3 separate regions of the Homo sapiens genome follow, and regions 2 and 3 are each linked to region 1. Evidence: promoter capture Hi-C in human tissues and cell types (Jung and others, 2019). All regions are on one chromosome and are shown on one strand. Each heading gives the region's core, a stretch centred on a gene start or on the middle of the fragment in contact. The rest is flanking DNA. Distances are from core to core; before and after follow the strand shown.

Evidence for each region. Contacts are between HindIII fragments. The study calls those that stand out against the background at their distance.
Region 2: a contact is called between the fragment with the promoter of MUC6 here and the fragment with the promoter of TALDO1 in region 1, in 2 of the 25 tissues and cell types used here (liver and pancreas).
Region 3: a contact is called between the fragment with the promoter of ANO9 here and the fragment with the promoter of TALDO1 in region 1, in 4 of the 25 tissues and cell types used here (H1 embryonic stem cells, dorsolateral prefrontal cortex, small bowel and 1 more).

What each region holds. Positions count from the first base shown.
Region 1 is chr11:746,181-750,034 of GRCh38, forward strand. It overlaps TALDO1 (transaldolase 1), which reads left to right and starts at 1,284. Exons shown (of 8, transcript NM_006755.2): 1 at 1,284-1,398. The coding sequence starts at 1,302. LOC105376509 (a long non-coding RNA gene) reads left to right here. Exons shown (of 3, transcript XR_930962.3): 3 at 569-782. RefSeq lists enhancers at 268-916, 555-614, 917-1,565 and silencers at 745-1,344, 1,405-1,694, 1,795-1,884. The HindIII fragment of the contact is 22,782 bases long and covers 1-3,854 here.
Region 2 is chr11:1,034,980-1,038,845 of GRCh38, forward strand. It overlaps MUC6 (mucin 6, oligomeric mucus/gel-forming (gene/pseudogene)), which reads right to left and starts at 1,739. Exons shown (of 33, transcript NM_005961.3): 1 at 1,625-1,739. The coding sequence starts at 1,676. The HindIII fragment of the contact is 28,311 bases long and covers 1-3,866 here.
Region 3 is chr11:439,975-443,343 of GRCh38, forward strand. ANO9 (anoctamin 9) reads right to left here and starts at 2,037. Exons shown (of 23, transcript NM_001012302.3): 1 at 1,947-2,037. The coding sequence starts at 1,952. It overlaps LOC105376506 (a long non-coding RNA gene), which reads left to right. Exons shown (of 5, transcript XR_007062542.1): 4 at 1-6; 5 at 511-699. It also overlaps the pseudogene RN7SL838P. RefSeq lists silencers at 1,811-1,890, 1,935-2,229 and enhancers at 2,061-2,330, 2,638-3,369. The HindIII fragment of the contact is 11,307 bases long and covers 1-3,369 here.

The sequences.
Region 1 (3,854 bases), core at 34-2,533:
GAGGTGGGCGGATCACGAGGTCAGGAGATCGAGACCATGCTGGCCAACATGATGAAACCCCGTCTGTACTAAAAATACAAAAATTAGCCGGGCGTGGTGGTGAGCGCCTGTAATTCCAGCTACTCGGGAGGCTGAGGCAGGAAAATCGCTCGAACCCGGGAGGCGGAGGTTGTAGTTAGCCAAGATCGCGCCACTGCACTCCAGCCTGGGCAACAAGGGCGAGATTCCGTCTCAAAAAAAAAAAAAAGTCTTTTCAGGTTTTTGCATTTCTGACAACCGGATGGCCCCACCTGGACCTGCCAACCAGTTGTGTGGCCTCTACCCAGGGACTGACTCAGCATAAGCGGACAGCTTCGACTCCCTGTGATTTCATCCCTAGCTGACCAGTCAGCACTTCTGACTCACTGGCCCCCTACCCACCAAATTATTCTTAAATACTGGGATCCCCGAGTTTTGGGGAGACTGATTTGAGGAATAAAACTCTGGTCTCCCGAACAATCGGCTCTGTGTGAATTATGCTTTCTCTATTGCAATTCCCCTGTCTTGACAATAGACTCTGTCCCGGCAGCTGGCAAGGCGAACCCATGGGGCGGTTACAGTGTCTGCAACGCAGACACAAGCGACAGAGACTTGATCAGAATATACAAGGAACTCTGCAAGTCAGCGATGGTAAGAAGCAGGGCAGCTGGGCCTCCTACGCCTGCCTCGCCGTTCGGTCCCCCGGACACCTCTGGGCTTAGGACTCAGGGGAACAGATTCCCAGAAGCAGGTTCCCCGCCGCGTCCGGCGCCCGGGCTCTGCAGCCGCCCCCTGCTCTGCCTCCTGCACCCGCAGGGCGTCCCCCGCCGCTCCCTCCCCTGCTTCCTGCAGCGGCCCCCGACCCCAGTCCTGGCCCCACCATGGATCCTGCATCGCCGGGTTCGGCCCTGGCGGGTTCAGCCCCGCAGAGTCGGCACCCGGGCCAGGTCCATCTCCTCCAGCCCTCCCGGTGCGTCCCGCGGGGCAGGAAGGAGGCGAGGCCCAGCCGCCCCGTGTCGTGCAGGTGTTTTCCCGGGCCCGTCCGCGGCGGCTGCTGAGGACCTGGGGAGACCCAGCCTGTAGGATCCGCAGCTGCGGTGCGCGGCCGGCAGTGGCGCTCGGGCTTCGTCCCCGGGGGCGGGGCTTCGTCCAGGCGCGCAGGGACCAGCGGGCCTCGCCCTCCCGCGCCGCTTTCCGATTGGCAGCCGCCCGCGGGGCATTGTGGGCCGTCCGCGCGCCCGTCCCGTCGCCGCCGCCGCCGCCGCAGACCCCTCGGTCTTGCTATGTCGAGCTCACCCGTGAAGCGTCAGAGGATGGAGTCCGCGCTGGACCAGCTCAAGCAGTTCACCACCGTGGTGGCCGACACGGGCGACTTCCACGGTGAGGACGGCGCGGAGCCCGGGCGCGGCGCAAGCGCCCTCCAGAGGCCCCGGCGCCCCGATTTCCCCGGGTCTCCCGTTCCGGGACGCGGACCGGGTGGCGGTGCCCCGGGCGGCTCGTTCCGGGAGGAATGAGCGCAGGTGCCGGATGTTGGGGCCAGGGACAGCCGTGAGGGGAGCGGGGCCCGGGTCGGCCGTGAGAGGCGCAGGGCCAGCGGCGACCGTGAGGGGAACGGGGCCCGGGTCGGCCGTGAGGGAGCAGGGCCGGGGGCAGCCGTGAGGAGCTGGGGTCAGCCGTGAGGGGCTCGGTGCTGGGGTCAGCGGTGCGGGCGGTACTGACGGGTCCTTGCGAGCCGTGGGGCACGAAGCCGGAGCCCCAGCCTCGCCCTCCGCCCAGGGTGGGGTCGGCTGCGCCCTCAGACCCCGCACCCGGGACGGGCTGTGGGCAGCCCGCGGGAGCCCCTCTGTGCACCTTCATGGGTCGAGGCAGCTTTCAGAGCCTTTGAGTTCAGGAGAGATTCAGGGTAGAGCTTCGAGCTGACTTCCACGTGGCCAGTTTGTGGTCAGCGAGATGCAATTTTGTTGGGCTGATGTCTGCAGAGCGGGGACATCAGCTAGCTCTGACCAGAAGCTGCCAGTGCTGCCATCGCCCTTGAGCCCTGCGGTGCCCAGTGGGACAACTCCGTGGGCGGCAGGTGCCCGGCCTGCTGGACAGCCACCGCCAGACGCACCGGGTGGGTAAAAGCCGGTGCCCATGAAAGCACAGGGTTGGTACACTGTTAAATACTGGATTTTCCTGGGCTTGAGTTGTTTACATTGGAGAGAACTTGGAAAATACAAAGAAGGATTATTTATTAATACTTAGCTCTTCTGTCCTCTGCAGTGCAGAGTAGACGAGCCTTGTGTCTATGTTTTGTTGAGAACAAGTAATATTTTTTAAGAAAATCATGAAACGCTTCATGGATGAATGCTGCGAGCACCTAATACGGAAGTGACTTCCTCTCTTTTCTGCTTTCTCATGGTGACTTGAGAAACAGGCTTTAATTCCTCTTTGGTAACTGAGTAAGGGCATTGTTTATCTAGCAGAGCCTAGAGAGTGAATTGGCATGTTTGGCTGCTTAACCATAAAATATGGGGATTCAGTGACTGGCTTGGGGTGCCACAGTCTGCTCCGGACCCCTCTTTGGGAGATCCAAAGCTAGAGCTGTGAATCCCTCACACACACAGCCCCCCCGTTGTAGTCCAGACCTCTCTTCATAAGAAAGAAAGCTCCAGAAAAGGGGCTACACATTTTTCTGCTGCTCAGTTTTTTCCCTTCTTAGCACTGAGAATAATTTGCAGTTTGCCTGGTGGACAGAGCGCTCATCTGTATTGTTCCTTACTGGCCCTCACCAGTTAGGGCAGAGCTGGTGCGGAGTGTCAGGTCCATTACACTTGGCAGTGCAGGGCCAATAAAGATGGATTTTCCTAAACCCACACCCACAGGAGGGCTGGGGAGTCCTGGGTTTCTGGTTTTGTTTTGTATTGTTTTTTAAGAAAACTTCTGGCCCAGCGAGGTGGCTCACGCCTGTAATCCCAGCACTTTGGGAGGTTGAGGCAGGTGGATCACGAGGTCAGGAGTTCGAGACCAGCCTGACCAACATGGTGAAACCCCGTCTCTACTAAAAATACAAAAATTAGCTGGGTGCGGTGTTGCATGCTTGTAATCCCAGCTACTTGGGAGGCTGAGGCAGGAGAATTGCTGAACCCAGAAGGCGGAGGTTGCAGTGAGCCAAGATCACACCACTGCACTCCAGCCTGGGCGACAGAGCAAAACTCCGTCTCAAAAAAAAAAAAAAAAAAATCTTCTAAACCCAAGTTGTGACATTTTTTTTTAATGAATATTAACAAAAAAATACATTCATTGATAGTATATGTTCATAAATGTTATATAGTTGTAAAATAGTCTGTTGGGTTTGTGATCTGTAGTTTGTGAAGTGAAGGTTCTTAACTCCTTGTGGGAGGGAGGCACAGGCCTCTGGAAATAGAATCAAAGCTGTGAATGCTCTTCCCACAATGTGATCCTCCCCATTTTGCATTCAGTTTAAGGATCCCTGGACCCTGAAACCCATTTTTGCCCCAATGGGCCTTGGTTTTGTTTTAATTTTGTAAAAGCCATTTGCTAAAAGCTGACTTTATCCAGGGGTGATTTTACAGGACGAAATGGGCTGTTTTCAGTGCCTCATTCAGTGCATTCTGGCAGACCTGTGTTAGCACTGTGCCAGATGTCATGTTGAAATGAGTATAGATGCACAACAGGCTTTTTCTTAACTTGTCATGTTGAAATGGGTATAGATGCACAGAAGTTGCAAAATCAGCCCATACAGTCCTGTGAACCCTTCAACCACTGTCCCCCATGGTGACATCTCATGTGACCATGGCATGGCATCCACACCGGGAAGTGGGCACTGCTGTGGT
Region 2 (3,866 bases), core at 489-2,988, 290 kb after region 1:
TTGGCCAGGCGCATGGGCATCTGGGCGGGTTGGTCCGCCACCCCCGGCCTCTCAGCCCCTGGACGAGCACGAGGCGGCAGGTGCGCACTGTTCCTTCTGCACGCTTGGCGGCCGCCCACCCCTGCCTCCCGGCCCACCGCGGCCCAGGCCTGCAGCCCGTCTGTCCGACCCCACACTCTGCTGGCTGAGGCCCCTCCCATGTTGGCAGAGATGGCGCTCAGAGATTATTTGCTGGGGTGACGGGTGGACACCCCCACTTGGCCCTCCACCCTCTGCACTGCCCACAGCCCAGACCTCCAGCCTCTCTGGGCCTCACCACACCTCCCTCCCTGGCTCCAGGGTGGTGGCCCGAGGGACTAGGGGTCGCACTCTGCTGCAAGTTTAGCCCCACTTCCTGGCACTTGTCCCCAAGCTGTGCCAGGTGTGCAGGTAGGGGCTGGGGTCCCAAGCAGAGGGCACCGCTGGGAGGGCTCAGAGACCCCCACATCTCCCACGGTTGAAGGGTGGTGCCCGGCGTGGTAGGGAGCGGGCTCAGAGACCCCCATATCTCCTACAGTTGAAGGGTGGTGCCCGGCGTGGTGGGGAGCGAGCTCAGAGACCCCCACATCTCCCACGGTTGAAGGGTGGTGCCCGGCGTGGTGGGGAAGGGGCTTCAAAGGAGAGAAGGGGTGGGGTGGGCTTGGGTCGCCCTACAGTGGGACACCCCTGGGGGGGTCCCACTGTGCTCTGAGCCCGAGGCGCCCAGGTTGGCAGCAGCTCCGAGGGCGAGCTCTGTCACGCCAGCGTCCACCCCAGGGGGCTCCCGGCTGTGGAGGAGGGTCGGGCCAGCTTGGAGAGGAAGGAGGAGCACGGAACACAGAGGCCCTTGGGCTGGTGCCTTGGTCGGCAAGAGGGGTCTCCCCAGGTCTCAGGCTGCGGCCACAGAGGGACCCCTTGGGGCTGGCTCCTTCTGGGGGCCTGGGGAGGGACTGATGGTCACCTGCAGCAGCCGCAGGGCAGGCGGTTGGCAGAGGATCCAGGATGTCAGTCCCTCCTGGATCCTGCCCGAGCTGGGTAGGGGAGCGCGGGGGAGAGGGCAGGCTGCCTGCGGCGGTTCTGAGCCCAGGATGGCCGTACACCTTCCCCCCTCTTCCCCCCACGGCGGCCACACCAGGGGAGGCAGCGTCCCCCACTTCTGTAGACTAGGAAACGAGGCCCAGGGCCCAGCAGAGACTGTGCCTCTGTCCCCCACACTCCAGAGACCTCTCAGGACTCAGGACCCCACTCGGGGAGGGAGAGCGCCAGGGCTGGGCACCAGCACACCTGCCCACTGTTCCCGCGGGAGTGCCGGACCCCACTCCAGCTGAGCGTCCTCCCCCGCTGGCTGCTGTGCCAGCTCACAGGAGGGCGTCCCTGCCCAGGCCCCATGGGGTCCCTGACCCCAATTGGCAGAGCCCAGCACCGCGGCTGCTGGGGGGACCCGGGCCTGGCAGCGGGGGCTGGTCACGGAGCCGAGCTGGGGCCTCCCGTCCATCAGCGTCCATGTGGGCCAGCCGAGTTGTCGAGGCGAGAAGGCCCAGAGACCCCCGCACACAGGGCCCCTCTGAGGGCACCGCAGTGTCTGGCGCCCCTCGACCTCACTCACCAGCGCTGAGCAGGGCTCCGCAGCAGGACAGCAGCAGCCACCGCTGGACCATGGTGCACAGTGGAGAGGAGCTCGCGCTGGGCCCGGCAGGCCTGCTGCTGCCATCCATGCGGCTCCAACGGCCGGTCCTGGGTGCCTTATATAGGCTGGCGGGCCCTCCCCCGCCGCACCTGCCTGCGCCCCGCGGTCCAGCCCCTTAATCACCACTGCCGGCGGGCGCCGCGGTGGCCAAACAGGATCTGGGCCTGCTTTATCAGGACTCGGCTTTCTTTGGAAAATCCTGCAGGCAGCGGCCCCATTATCACCCATTCCCAGCGGGGGGCTGACGCACGCACGCCCCCAAAGGTCCTGCAAACACCCCCTGCATGGGGGCCATCCTGGCCCGGGCCCTCCCCGCTGCTGGGTCAACGTGGCACTGTCAGCCACACGCCTGGTGGCCGGGATGGACCTGTTGGGGGAGGTCGGGGGCCCTGGGGCACCTGCTCTGCCCCTTCCGGGGAGCCCAGTGCTGACCCAGCTTGGGGGGAACCCTGCTGCACCTGAATCCCAGGACCCCCTGAGGGGCACTGGGCCCACCCCTCACCCTGAATCCCAGCACCCCCTGAAGGGCCCTGGGCCCACCCCTGAGTTCCCTGCCCAACAGGAAAGATCACCCAGCGGGAGGGACCTTGCCAGGGGGTGTTGGGGAGCAGGGGCTCCGCCGTCTGGGACAGGCAGCGGCCTTGGGGCTTAGACAGGCTGCCCTGGAGGCCTGAGGAGCTACCGTGTCTCTGCAGCCCGCCAGGTCCCAGGCTTGCTCCTGAAGACCCCTCCACAGCTGTTTTCTTCCCCCTTCGAGCGCTGTTGGCAGCCATCTTGAGGACAGGAACTCGGGGGCTGCTCGTCTGCTGGGGCATCTCTGCGGGGCTGTGGGGTCGCCGGTATGCTCCTGACCCCTTCAGGCAGAGGGGCAGGGACTGGGATGACCAGGGGGCCTTGCCTGTGGAGGCACGTGCCACGTCTGAGGGGCCGGGGACAGGGCAAGGTCTGGTGACATCGGGGTGGTGCCGGTGGCTGGCGGGGGGGAGGGAGGTGGAGGTCTGAGTGGTCACCAGGATTGCCCCAGCTTCGTTTGGCAGCCCAGGGACCCCTCCCAAAGGGGATTTTGGTCCCCGACTCCGACAGGAGCCCTCGCTGGCCTCGGGGCTGCTCCCACCACACGTCAGCATCCCGGCCTGAGCCAGGAGGGACTCCGAGGCCGCCTGGTCTCCCTGGGCCGGGCTCCCCACATGGGGCTGCACCCCCATCCCACAGGTGAGCTGAGCCTGCTGGCTGGGACCCGGGCCTGCCACCTCTGTCCCACCTGTGCCCACACGCCCGGGAGCTGCCCCACCTGCCCCCGGAAGAGGCCCCAGGGCCACGCGTGCCATACACAGTAGGTGTCGCGTGTTTCACTTAAATCAGCTTCAGTTTTGTGGAACGTTGCTTGAAGTTACAATAAGTTGCTTTTGTAGGAAATTGCAGTACGTGTGCTGCCCCCCACCAGGAGCCCCACACCAGGCATTCTGGGTGTTCTACTCTCATCTGTTCTTCTTTTTAATTTTTCGGTTTTGTAGGGACGAGGTCTCACTTTGTTGTCCAGGCTGGCCTTGAACTCCCGGACTCAAGAGATCCTCCTGCCTCAGCCTCCCAGAGTGCTGAGATGACAGGCGTGAGCCACCGTGTCCAGCCTTGGCTGTCCCTTCTTAACACGCTCAGTGGTCCCTGTGGTTCAGGTGAGAAGCTGAGGCACAGGAGTGAGGCCCTTGCCCTGTCATGCTGAGAGGTTGGATGGACGCAGGGCTCACAGCTGGCCCTCGTTCTGAGCTGGGGCCTCTCAGCCCGGGCTCGAGGTGGGGACGATGAGGGGCAGAGATCTTAGGGCCTCCTTCCCTGGGTGGGTCACTGCACCAGGGCAGCTGGTGCCAAAAGGGACCTCATGGGCAGGTGTCATGGCTGGGAGCCCTGTGGCCATGTCAGCCCGGCGGTTGTGCTTGTCTGACCACCTGTCTGGGCTTGTGAGAACCGAGCTCAGGTTCTCAGGAGGGATCCTATGAAGCTTTGAATGTAGGGGCAGGGGTGGGTTGGGGGTGAGAGCCAGTGGACACTGGTTCCCCGGCCAGGCCTGTAGGGCTTCGGGTCCTGGCCACTGAGGCTTCCATTTCCCAGCTGTAAAGTGGCAGAGACCCCTGACCTTGAAGGTTATGGCTGTGGCGTTCAGCAT
Region 3 (3,369 bases), core at 787-3,286, 310 kb before region 1:
TGGCAGGTGAGGAGGCATGGAGCTTGGCATTGTAGGGCAAGAGGTTGGCAAAAGGTGAGAAAATGGGGGCAGCATTCCCGGGAGAAAGAACATGTGTGGGCACGCCCTGAGAATCAGGGTGCAGTTGGTGTCTGGGACTCAGCAGTCAGCACCTCCCAGGGACTCAGCACTCAGCACCTCCAAGGAGGACTTGGTAGCTACTACTCCTGGTGACTCAGCACTCGGCACCTACGGAAACTGAGTCCAGGGACTCAGTCCTTGGTACTTCAGCTTTGCAGAAGCATAAAGGGCAAGAAGGGAGCTGCCAGAAGGGGAGGCTGGAGGTTGGCAGAGGCCAATCAGGGGAGGCTGCTAGGCTTCTTGGCCAAATGGAGAGCTTGGACTTCAGCAGGGGGCAGTGGGGAGCCATGGAAGGGGTTAGAGCAGAGGAAAGGCACGCCCAGATCCAGCCTGGAGCTGGGACTAGCAAGTCCTCCCCATGTCTGCAACTGTCCTTTTTGATCACCACAGGAGTTTTGACCTGCTCCGTTTCCGACCTGGACCGGTTCACCCCTCCTTAGGCAACTTGGTGGTCCCCTGCTCCTGGGAGGTCACCATACTGATGTGCGGACAGCCAGTCAGCCTAACACACTACAGCCCAGAACTCCCAGGCTCGAGCAACCCTCCTGCCTCAGCCTCCGGAGTAGCTGGGACCGCAGGCTCATGCCACCACGCCCGGGTTCCAGCAGTCCTCCTGCCTCAGCCTCCCGAGTAGCTGGGAGCGCAGGCACGCGCCACCACGCCCGGGTTCGAGCAGTCCTCCTGCCTCAGCCTCCTGAGTAGCTGAGACTGCAGGTGCATGCCACGACGCCCGGGTTCAAGCAATCCTCTTGCCTCAGCTTCCGGAGTAGCCGGGACCACAGGCATGCGCCACCAGGCCCGGCTGCAACTGTCTTTTTTGAAGGACTGATGCTCTCACTTCCAACAAACCAGGTGCTGCTTCTCCCAACCCAACCCCTGGCCAGCCCCAAGTCTCTCCTCTAACCCCCAGCATGGGAGGAAGGGGCTGGCAGAGGGGACCCTGAGCTCAGGCTAAGGGGCATCAGGTGCTGGGCTGAGCAGCCAGGGTGTCAGACCTGGATGTGGAGGGCCGAGGAGAGCCCTGGGCGGAGATGGAGCAAGAGGCCGCCGGCGCAGCCCACACGTGGAGGCCCTGGCAGGCCGAGAGGGAGGCTGGTTTCACTCCACACCTCACCACTGCCTCCTCCCTGGGCCGACCAGGTGCTGACCTGCCCAGGTGTTGGCCCTGGCCCCAGGTGACCTCTTCACTGGCAGAGGGGAGAAAGGATGTCTTTCTACGTGTTCACCTGCACTCCCTCCCCCAGAATCGGAATCCAGCAGCAGCAGTCAGCGCCCACCCCCAGAATCGGAATCCAGCAGCAGCAGTCGGCCCCCACCTGTGCTGGGCGGGGTCCTTGGGGAGCAGAGAGCCCACAGCCCGCCGGCCACTCTGCAGCTCCCAACCCTGGGGCAGCCTGCCTGGTGCCCACAGCCCGCTCCCCCTTAGGGGCCAGCTGCAAGGCAAAGCTGCCAGGTCTGGGGTCCTCAGCAGCAGCCCCCGCCTCGGTGGGCAGGCCCTCTCCATCTCGTGTTCAGGACTCTGGTAGAGGTTCCTGGCCCCACACACTAGCTGAGAGCCCAGCCCTGGTGCCCTCAGAATCCCGGGCTGGAGGGAGGAACGCCGCCCGCCTCCAGCACTTCCAACCCCCAGCGTGCCCCAGGAGTCCAGGAGGCAGCTTAGCTGAGCCGGGCGGTCACCCTCGCCTGACCGGGCAGCCTGCAGGGACCCCCCCCACACACACAGGCGCCTTCCAGGTGGGGCTGGCGGGGGGCTGGGGCCGGGGGCCCCAGGTGTGGGCGTGGCTGGGGGCCTTGAAGGTGTGGACCCTTTTGAGCGCAGGACTCACCTGCATGCTGGCTGTGGCCGGAGTTCCAGCTGGGGTTTGGCGGCCAGGAGAGTGGCTGCCAGCGGCGGGTGCTCCTACCTGACTTCCGCGTGGGGCTCGCCCCTCCCTCCTCCTCCTCCAGCGTCCTGCAGCTGCCGCGCCTGGGTGTAGTCGGGGCGGAGCCAGCATCCAGGCCAGGAGAGTACCCCAGCCCCTGGAGCCTGGGACACCTTCCTGGAGCCCAGATGGCGGGTCAGGGGCCAGAGGGGAATTCCTAGGCTGGAGTTCCCGGGAAGGGGGTTTCCACTGTGAGATGGGTCTCATGACACCTGGTCCTAGGGGGAAGCAGGATGGCACAGAGCCCCTGACAGAGCCAGCACCAACGCCCCCACTTGCCTTGCCTCTCTCACCCCCGCTCACACATCCCCATGTTCCCTCCAAAAGCATCCCACCCCAGGCCATGCCCCCCACCCCGGGCCACGGCCCCCCACCCCGGGCCACGGCCTCCCCCACCCCGGGCCACGGCCTCCCCCACCCCGGGCCACGGCCCCCCACCCCGGGCCACGGCCCCCCACCCCACAGGTCCAGTGCTGATTCCCTTAGAGGAGAAACTGGGGCAAGGAGGACTGACGACGAGACAGACTCCCAAAGAAACTGTCTGCTCCTACCCAAGCCCCTGCTTTCTGGGCCCCACTGGGGAATCCTTGGAGTCCTGGGGACACGTGGCTGGCCCCAGGCTGTGTAGACAACGGAGGAGGAGCCCTCCACCCCGCATCCCCAGTCCCTGAGCACGTTCTGTGCAGCCTGGGCTGAGGGCGGCAGCTGGGCAGGCTCTGGGTGTCCTGAGAGTGACCGTCCAGTGGAGTGCCCTGAGGAGGGAAGGGCTGCGGGGAGTGGGGGCCCAGGCCGTGGGCTGGCACACATTATCTGCAGCGTGTGTGGCGAGGAGTCTGCTTCTGAAAGCTGCTGCAAAGCTGGGGAGGCAGGGCCAGAGCTCCGCAGGCAGACGCTGTCACACGGAACGGCTCCAGGCCCACTGGGGCCAGAGCACCCCCCGGCAAGCCCAGCAGCCCTCTGCTGTGGTCCAGGCCCAGGGCCAACAGTCGGCTCTGGTTTCCCCAAGGGGTAACATGGTCCCACCCATGTTTCTCCTTGGGGGACCTCCTGGCAGGCTGGGATGGCAGCAGAGACCACAGCTTTGCCACTTTGGCAAAGACAAGCGAGTGAAGTGGTGGCCGAGGACCTGTGAGCTCAGATGGGGCAAATCCAAATGGAACACATTCAGATCTGTGTGCAAAATGGTGGTGGCTTAAACAAGCTGTGTATTTCTCCTATAAGTGAAATCTGGAGTTGGCCGGGCGCAGTGGCTCATGCCTGTAATCCCGGCGCTTTGGCAGGCCGAGGCGGGTGGATCACCTGAGGTCAGGAGTTCGAGACCAGCTTG